Linked DNA regions of Homo sapiens: region 1 is linked to region 2. The links are contacts of gene promoters, found by promoter capture Hi-C in blood cells and fetal thymus (Javierre and others, 2016). All regions are on one chromosome and are shown on one strand. The core of a region is centred on a gene start or on the middle of the fragment in contact, and the rest is flanking DNA. Distances in the headings are between cores, read along the strand shown. Region 1 overlaps PYHIN1 (pyrin and HIN domain family member 1). Region 2 holds the start of OR10X1 (olfactory receptor family 10 subfamily X member 1).

Region 1 (4,450 bases), core at 1,637-4,136, 360 kb before region 2:
AATCCACAATTCCAGATGCAGAATTCTGCTGTTTTGTAGTCTGCATAAGTTAGCCAGAATCCTCAGGGCTGTTAATCATATTTAGAAATACTTAACAATCTACTTGAGCATTTGCAGTAAATGTTTTTTAACATTTTTTTCCAAAAGCAAGGACATAGGTCTCCTCAATCATATAATTTTCTCTATTTTCACTGATTTTTTTTACCATTCATTAATAGGTTACTTTCCATAGTTCTACCACTTCTAGAATTCAGTTATGTAATATATAAAAAGCACTCTGTTATAGAGAAGAATGAGAGGACTCTAATTCTGGAGAGTGGCTTCTGTATGACAGTACACTTTGTTCATTCTGGGTACCTCATTATTTTTGAGAAGCCCTGCAGAGCCTGGGCTATGCAAACATATTCATTAAATGACACTGTCAATTCTGAAATTTGTAAAATAAATTGCTGACATTAGTATATCTCAACTTTTAATCTAAAGCCCCATATAATCATAAATTGTTCAAGTTTTACATTTCAATAGGGCTGGATATGAATCCTGACTCTAACACTGTCTTTGAGAACTTGAGGAAGACTTTTTTTTTATGTTTGAGTGTGTCTATTTTCTTCTATGTCAATTGGGACAGAAAGTAGCATCCTCTTGATGGTTATGAAGAAGGAATGAGATAATGTACATCAGGAACAACATGTAAGACCAAACACCTAGTTAAATGCTCAAACACAGAACATTGTCGTTACATGTTCTATGCTGGGACTTGTAGTTTTTTTCTTTTCTACAAATATATCATGTGCTACACTGACCCTATTAAGGGAAACCCCAGATCAAGGAAGTATGGAAAACATCTTATATGATAAGCCTCTCTGTTCACTTCTGTGAAATTAGTACTTTACTCTCATTGACAGGAGGCCCTGTAAAAGCAAACAATAGGAGGACTCAACAGTTCTGCTATCTTGTATCATTGAGGACTTGCCAGAGGAAAATACTTAAGTTGGTGTCTGAAATTTAAGGAAATTCTTGCCAGTGATGAGATGGGAGAAATAGATTCCCAACAATGAAATAGCATGTTTCCAAATATATACTTCGAATATTTATTTCAACTTGGAATGCTGAAAATAAATTCAGAAATAATACCAATAAGCAAAGGGGAAAGTTGTGAAAGAAATTGGAATGTGGGTCATAACACACTCTTTGTCTTCATCTCTACTTCTCTGGCCATTACCCCTCCCATAGGTGGAGCAAGACAAGATACTAGCCCTCTTGTGGTCAGCAATCGTTGCACAAATAAATATCTTTTAGATAGCAAAGACTATCATGTGGTAGTATCTCACTGTATGCATTCAATAAATACATGGGTGATTTAATTTTATCTAGAGATTGTACACAGTTAGGGATTAGAAGAGAAACTCTTTCAACAATCTAATGATCCTTGTAATTTATATTTGGGAGATAAGAGTCATGGGACCCAGGATATTGTACCTTGGTGAAGGAACTGCTGGATGGGGTTGTTGGTGGCATCTGAGGAGTCTTGAGATGGCTTTCAGGTAGGGTTGTGCTGGCCTCTGAAGGTTTTGGATGCTGACTCTGTTCCTGGGGTAGTGCCATGCTCCTGGAGTCATGGCTTCTCTGGTTTGTATTTTTCTGTATCTGAAAGTATTCATTTTTTTGTTTAATGTTTTTTAATATTAGGGAAAGCAAAACATCTTTAAATATGTGAGAATATCATCCTTTATTAAATTCTAATAGATGTCATTACCTTCAAAGATTGCCTCTATCTAATGTATTCCTCCAGGCAACTGCCAATATATTTTTTTGCTAAAATGTAAAATGATCTAACATTCTTAGTAAAATAAAATCTTTATTCACTTATTTTTTAAAATGAAATCCATTTTTGTCTTTATGGCATAAGACAGATGAGAAAAGGGCTGCTTGTTACCTGTCTTGCATGAATTTCTCATACCTTTCCACATATGCCAAAGTTGTACAGAACTCACTATGCTTTTTCTCACTTTTAATGTTTGTATGCAACATTTTCTCTGCCTGAAGTCTTTCCAATGTCTGTCTTTACCTTGTTAAGAGCAGTAGTATCTAGTGCATACTGGTTTGTCACAAGGTACAAGGAAGGCAATGGGCTACAAAATGTATATCCATGATCTCATTTAATTTTCAAACCAATTGTGTGAGGAACATGTAAGCTATTTCTCCAATATCATGCAACCAATGAGCAAGATATATACCAAGCCTATCTTACTGCAAAGAACTTGGTTTTGATAACTAACTGCAATTAGGCCCGTGGCCTCCTAGTTTCTTCAAATATTTTAATATTTAGCACAAGTTTCATGTCTTTTTGAAGAAGATAATTGTCCATCTCTTAATATATTTTAATAATTTTCTCTATTTAAATGTAAGCGCAAGGGCATTATTTGGTTTCTCATGAACTCTGCAGAATTTTAAGTGTAAAACAACAGAAGTATGGCTTCCTAAAACTTAAAGCAAATGATTTTCATCTTTGGAAAACTAATATTTGTTTCTTTATTTCTCACCTGGATGAAACTATGCATTTCTGACATCAGTTTTGACATATTTTCCCTCTTTCTCAGTCGAAAGCAGAAGAGTCGAAGCTTATCTCCTTTTTCACAGGGGATATTGTGGCATTCTCCTTTTCCTACTACAGCCATACTTCCTGTTTTATCCTGAATTTCATAGATTGTCGTCTTCCTATTTACAATTTTCTGCAACAAAAAATTAATATCATGTTTGTGAGAACATAGTAACTACCGTGCATATAGGAAAGTCTCTTGTGACAGATTAAAAACAAGATGCAAGACAGCAACTCCTAGTACTGTATCGACATACAATACATATGCCTTAGTCTAGACCATCTCACAGAGCTCTCCCTCAATATCCTTTTTGTTTAAGTCCTTAATGTTCTAAGTATTTCTATTACAGTTCTAGAGCAATGAGTTATCTTCCCATTTTCAACTTCTTTCACCTCCAAGACTGCTATGCTTCCCAAAGCACCTTGATACAAAGGAAACTGAAGTCCTTGGTAGGCTTATTTGGCCTCTGCCCCTATGCAAAAAGAATGGGCATCTGTCACAACTCATCATTCACTATGTTATGAGGAATCTGTAATAAAAAACAAGCTTCTAGTAACTATCTAATTACTTTTTTGACTTTCTCCATTTACTGAATCTCTTTCAACATCTGCTCCCATCCTGAACTCAGGTCCTTAAGCTCAAACATTCCAATTTCTTGCTCATCAAGGCTATTACTCATCGTTCTGGATGTGTATTTCTAAGAATTTCTTTAAGAGTGTGTACAGAAAGCAATGCTGGTAAAATAAGAGGTCATTCTAGAAAATAAATATAACAGATCATGAGCTGTCAGTCATCTAAGAAATTACTGGACTCAATAGCCAGGTATAGATGGTTTTCTGAGTTGGAATGTCTCAAGCTAACTAGTTTCGTGAATTTTGACAGTAACATATCAGAAAATTTTTTCTGCTCTTTTTTTGCGACATATCTAATATACGAGTACAGATTACCTGATTCTCCAAGTATCACCCAAATTTATATTTCTCAGCCCTTCAATACTTTTTGATGAATGCATTTCATTTGGTCAGAACATTGTCCTACCTGTTTACTGCAATTGATTTCCAGGTATAAACAGTCAATTCATTTCTTGCCCTGATTGTCAAAACTGGAACTCAAGCCTCAAAGAACAATACTGTATTCAAAATGAAAACAATGTGATTTTTGCTACAATTGAGATTATAATCAAAGAAATAAGTTTAGTATTATGTTTGTATGGATCTAGATCCCTCACTATCTTTGATCGTTATGACTCATAATAGATAGTCACAGCTGATGAAGTCTCAAGGTTTCTCAGTGAATGTTTTACTAAAGAACTTCAGGGTGATATTTTGGAAAGAATGAGAACATTAATAGTTCTCCTAATCCTGGTCTTAACCTCGAAGAAGACTTTATCTACTTGTCAGTAGTTTTGAGAGAGTCCTGAGTTTTAATGTTAAGTAATATGCAAACTTCCATTTAGCACATCAGGGCTTTTAATTTCAAGTGTTATTGTAGAAAATGCCACAAAATAGCTTTGATGCCTTACCGTATGTAGCATAAATAATCCATATACAATATATCCTGAAGTTTGTTTGTGAAGAATATTGATCTTCGGAATTTTCTTTGCTCTTCTGATGATGTCCTTTGGAACCTCAAACGTTTGGTCAGGACCAGCTTCAGATACAGAAGAGGCTTCATTCACCTCTAGGAGACTATTACGTTTGGAATAATTTGATATAATGATGATTCTCTTTTTAATGAATTTCCTCTTCAAGTTGATGTTTAAAACCTTCACATGAAAGAACTGTGTCTGCGTAGCCACTGTAGCATGAAACATTCTTCTTTGCTCATTTTCTGAGGATTCATATTTAAAT
Region 2 (4,608 bases), core at 1,952-4,451:
TCTAGAGCTCAGGAATCTCAAGCACTCATAATAATCAAACTATATCTCTAAATCAGTAGAAAGGAAGGTTCTAAACCATTGTAATTTAGTGGGCTGTGGGGGTTGATCACATCACATATGGCCTAACCTCACAACTCATGTCACAGAACTCTAAAGACATAGAATATTAAAGCTTGCATAAACTCAGGATCTTTTTTCTTACTTCCCATCTGGAGAAATTCAAATCTAGAAGATACAGCAGCTTTCCCAATGTCACTAAGCTAGCACCAGTGTTTTTCATATTAAATCAATCTCAGTCTCTTTTGAGTGGTGAAAAAAAGTATGCTTCCAGCAATATTGTGAAGATTATCTTTTGGAAGAATATAATCGTGACAGTGAATTAATTGGCTTTGGAGCCTGATAAAATAAACAAGGTAGGAAACTATTTTAGACGGTTTTACTCTCTTCTCCTCATAACTAATTGTCACTACAAAAAGAAACGGTCATTGGGATAACATTACATATCTTTTCCATATCACCATTTCTCTTTGGAAAGTGTGTGTGTGTATGTGCGAGTGTGTGTGCGTGTGTATATATATATGTCACGTATATGTCATATATGACATATATATATGTCAGTGGATTCATAACCCAAATTAAATTTGACACAGGTGGATTTAGGGACAACTTCAGAGATAGATGAGGTAGGGTGGGACATAATATCCTCACAACACACACACACACACATACAAAATCACGCACACATTTAGAATATACCAGAAGTGGAGATTCTGACATTTATACTCTACTGCTGATGATTCACCAAGGAAATATTTAGCACACAGTCAAGTAAGGACTAGATAAGAAAAGACCTATCTTGGAATTTGTATTGGTGATTATTTGCATTTTCAAAAAGCTTATGAATTTAATGGTGACTTTAAAAACAGCACCTCCTCCAACCCCCTCGCTGCCCCCTAGTCCCTGCCTCAAATCCCAGGGCTGTGTTGGAAGAGGTAGAACACGTGTAAAATCAGACTGTTTTTTTTCTGGTAGTATGTTAGAAAAAGCTTGGGTTTTGTACCAAGGCCATCAAGTACTAAAATAACTTATTGTTTTGCTAATCTATTTCATATTTACCCTTTGCTATATTTAATCCTTTAGTTGTAGAATCCACATAATTTCCTTTCTTACAGAGTTACTGTGAAGGGTCAAGAGTGCTTGGGAGCATTGGTGTATGAAGTGCTCTACTGATAGGAGGAATTTTTTGCAGTGGCTTAGGAATAAGCAGAAGGAACCTATTGAAGCCTAATACTTCTGGAAGGAAAAAGATGCCTCTGAACAGTTGAAATGTAGCAGAAAGCTGATCATAGAGAAAAGTGGAACAATCATCTGCAAGTAGATTTGGAAACCAAAGATACTCGTACTGAATGTGGTTACTAAAGAGGCTCACACCAAAAGGCCTCAAGAGGAAGCCCCGGGTTATAATAGACATGGTCCTCTATAATATTCCCTTAGGTAAGAGAACAGAAAAATGGTCTTCTTATTGGGAAATGACTGCTCACTAAGAAGAGTAGATACAGTAAGTGAAAGGGAAACAGAATGGAGAAAGAGTTGATAGGAGATAAGAAAAGATTAAGTCATGTGATTCATGTATGACTGTCAGAGAGTAAGAAACTTGTAAGGTCTAAGAAGACAAAGAACCAAAGGGACCTTTAAAGTAGAGTCCAAAGGGTTGTGGATTATTTTAGGAACCACTTATAATTCAGACCTTTTTTCTACTGTGTCTTCTGACTGTCAGTGATAAGTTAGACTCTGCCATGAGAATGCTTAATCTTAGCCTAAACAAAACCTAATTAGAGTGGAAAGTCTGTTAACCTCCATGCTCAAAAATCAAATGCTATACAGTGCTGAATAACAAAGGAAAACAAAAATCATTTATATACTAAGCACTTTTTTGATGATTAACTCATCCATCTAACATTCACCAGGAATTATTACCTTCTTAAAGTGCTCCATATTATTACTCTGAAAAATACAAAAATATAAGACTTATGGTCTCTTTCTTGAAGCACTAAGCATTGATAAATGAAAAGAGTATACAATTCAAGTCAAATCTCTTTGCTTCTAGTCACAAATATGCCACTTCCAAGACATAATTTTATTTCTAAAATAAGTAATCACACTTGTCCTACCCATTTCGCAACCGTCCCATTCACTTTATATTTATGCTGTGAAGAGTAAAATCAATAAACATTTGAAATAATTTGGAAAAATATAAACCCCACAAATGCTAGTTATTAAATATGTTGACATATGGGGCAGGGAAAACAGTAGCTCAATATACTACAGGGCTGAAACAATGTGTTAAATATAGGGACTAACAACATGCTATAGAAATCAGAGGACTATGAGATTAAATCAGATGTAGCATTATTGAAAAATTTATACAATTATTAAATGCCACTTATTTTCTTTGAATGCTGAGCTGGGAATTAACAAAATAGACACAATCTCAATTGCCACCTGCACTATGCTTGTATAGTCTGCTTATCAAAACCATCCACAGATTTAATTAATTACTATTAATCCTAAGAGTCCTAGGCTACCCTATCTTTCTTCTTTCCCTCTTCTCAGAGCAGAAATAATGACACATGTTTTTTTAACTTTCTTTTAAAATTCTAGGACCTAAATATATTCTCCAAGAAGGGTTAATGACTTTGGGCTTCTCCAACAATTGCAAGTGATTGTCCAAGTTTTGTCCTAAAATTACTTGGAAATCAATTCTTGATATTTACGCAGTAAATATTTATAGACCATACATTGTGTGGAAGTTTCTGTGTTGGACCCTGACTCTATTAGCCACTTAAAAGTTTTCTCTGTGTTCAGAAGCTCATCCAAATAAAGCTCACCTAATGCATCTGAACCTCCTTTATCTGAGCATCAACTGGAGTGTTTCCTCCCATATTATACCACATGCTCATAAAATCCTTTTAAAAATAGGCCAGAGCAAGCCTTCTTGTCATATACATAGTGATGTCATATACTAAGTCATCACTAATTAGCTGCTGAATAAAGGAAAAAATGAATGGATGAAAAATGAGAAAAACACATTACCTACATATACATAGTTTTGCTAAACTACAAGAAAAAGCAGTTGGTAATTGTAATTCTGATGATTTATCTTAGTCATCACAATTTTCCTTTGATGGTATCAAAAGATAATGGTGTTGAATGTTTATTGTTGTTTCTTTCAAATTTCAGACATTCAAACGATGAAGATCAACCAGACAATCCTGAAGGAATTCATTCTTGTTGGCTTTTCTGTGTACCCACATGTACAGACATTTCTTTTTGTGGTCTTCTTTTGTCTCTACCTTCTCACCCTTGCAGGTAATCTGATCATCATGGGTCTAACTTGGGTGGACAGGTCCCTCCACACCCCTATGTATCTCTTCCTTAGTGCACTCTCCTTCTCTGAGACCTGCTATACGCTGACCATCGTCCCCAAGATGCTGGAAGATCTACTGGCCAAGGACAGAAGCATTTCAGTCACAGGTTGTAGCTTACAGATGTGCTTCTTCTTGGGACTTGGTGGCACAAACTGTATCATTCTCACTTTGATGGGATATGACCGCTTCCTGGCCATCTGTAACCCTCTAAGATATCCACTGCTTATGACCAACATTGTATGTGGACAACTTGTGGCCTCTGCTTGCACTGCAGGCTTCTTTATCTCTCTTACAGAGACTGCACTGATATTCAGGGACTCTTTCTGCAGACCCAACCTTGTCAAACACTTCTTCTGCCATATGCTGGCAGTTATTAGGCTGTCTTGTATAGACAGTAACCACACAGAATTCATTATAACACTGATCTCAGTGTCTGGTTTGCTGGGTACCCTTCTGCTCATCATCCTGACTGATGTCTTCATTATTTCTACTGTCCTCAGGATCCCTTCAGCTGAGGGCAAGCAGAAGGCCTTCACCACCTGTGCCTCCCACCTCACCGTGGTTATAATCCACTTTGGTTTTGCATCTATTGTTTATTTGAAGCCAGAAGCCTCAGGAGATGACACACTCATAGCAGTCCCTTATACTGTCATTACCCCCTTCCTCAGCCCCATCATATTCAGCCTGAGGAATAAGGACATGAAAAATGCTTTTAGAAGAATGATGGGAAACACAGTTGCCTTGAAAAAATAATCTTGGGTTGTTGCTGCTTGTTTGAAGAAGGGCTCAATGTCCCCAGAATTCAATAGGGGCATTTATCCTGTGACCCCTGGAGAAACTTGTACCATTTGCCTTGTTCCAGAGGTTGGGATGTAAGAAGCAAGTGACACAGACTGGGAACTAAGTAGCCACAGGCATCTACTTAGCTTGTTAGAGAAGCTGTCCAACCCTTCTACTATCCAGTATCAGAAGAAGAATGTCCCTGCAGATAAAAGATTCTGATAATCAACTTCCGGGTGTCCTGCAGTATTCATGAATTGAGTAAAAAGTGTGGAAGGAAAAAACAGCATATAAATCCACTGCACTGAGTGATGTTTTAAATATCTAAAGATGTCAACCATGGCTCAGGCTTGTAATCCCAGCACTTTGGGAGGCCGAGGTGGGCAGATCACTTGAGGCC

What was found. The method cuts DNA at HindIII sites, captures the fragments that hold promoters and counts their contacts. A CHiCAGO score of 5 or more calls a contact.
Region 1: a contact is called between a fragment that was not itself captured here and the fragment with the promoter of OR10X1 in region 2, in 1 of 17 cell types (M1 macrophages). The highest score is 5.3, in M1 macrophages.

What each region holds. Positions count from the first base shown.
Region 1 is chr1:158,942,072-158,946,521 of GRCh38, reverse strand. PYHIN1 (pyrin and HIN domain family member 1) reads right to left here. Exons shown (of 9, transcript NM_152501.5): 5 at 4,123-4,450; 6 at 2,544-2,732; 7 at 1,480-1,647. Among named protein-coding and RNA genes, the nearest start is that of PYHIN1, 13 kb to the right of the region's middle. The HindIII fragment of the contact is 525 bases long and covers 2,624-3,148 here.
Region 2 is chr1:158,578,492-158,583,099 of GRCh38, reverse strand. It overlaps OR10X1 (olfactory receptor family 10 subfamily X member 1), which reads left to right and starts at 3,201. Exons shown (of 1, transcript NM_001004477.1): 1 at 3,201-4,181. The coding sequence starts at 3,201. The coding sequence ends at 4,181. The HindIII fragment of the contact is 11,722 bases long and covers 1,049-4,608 here.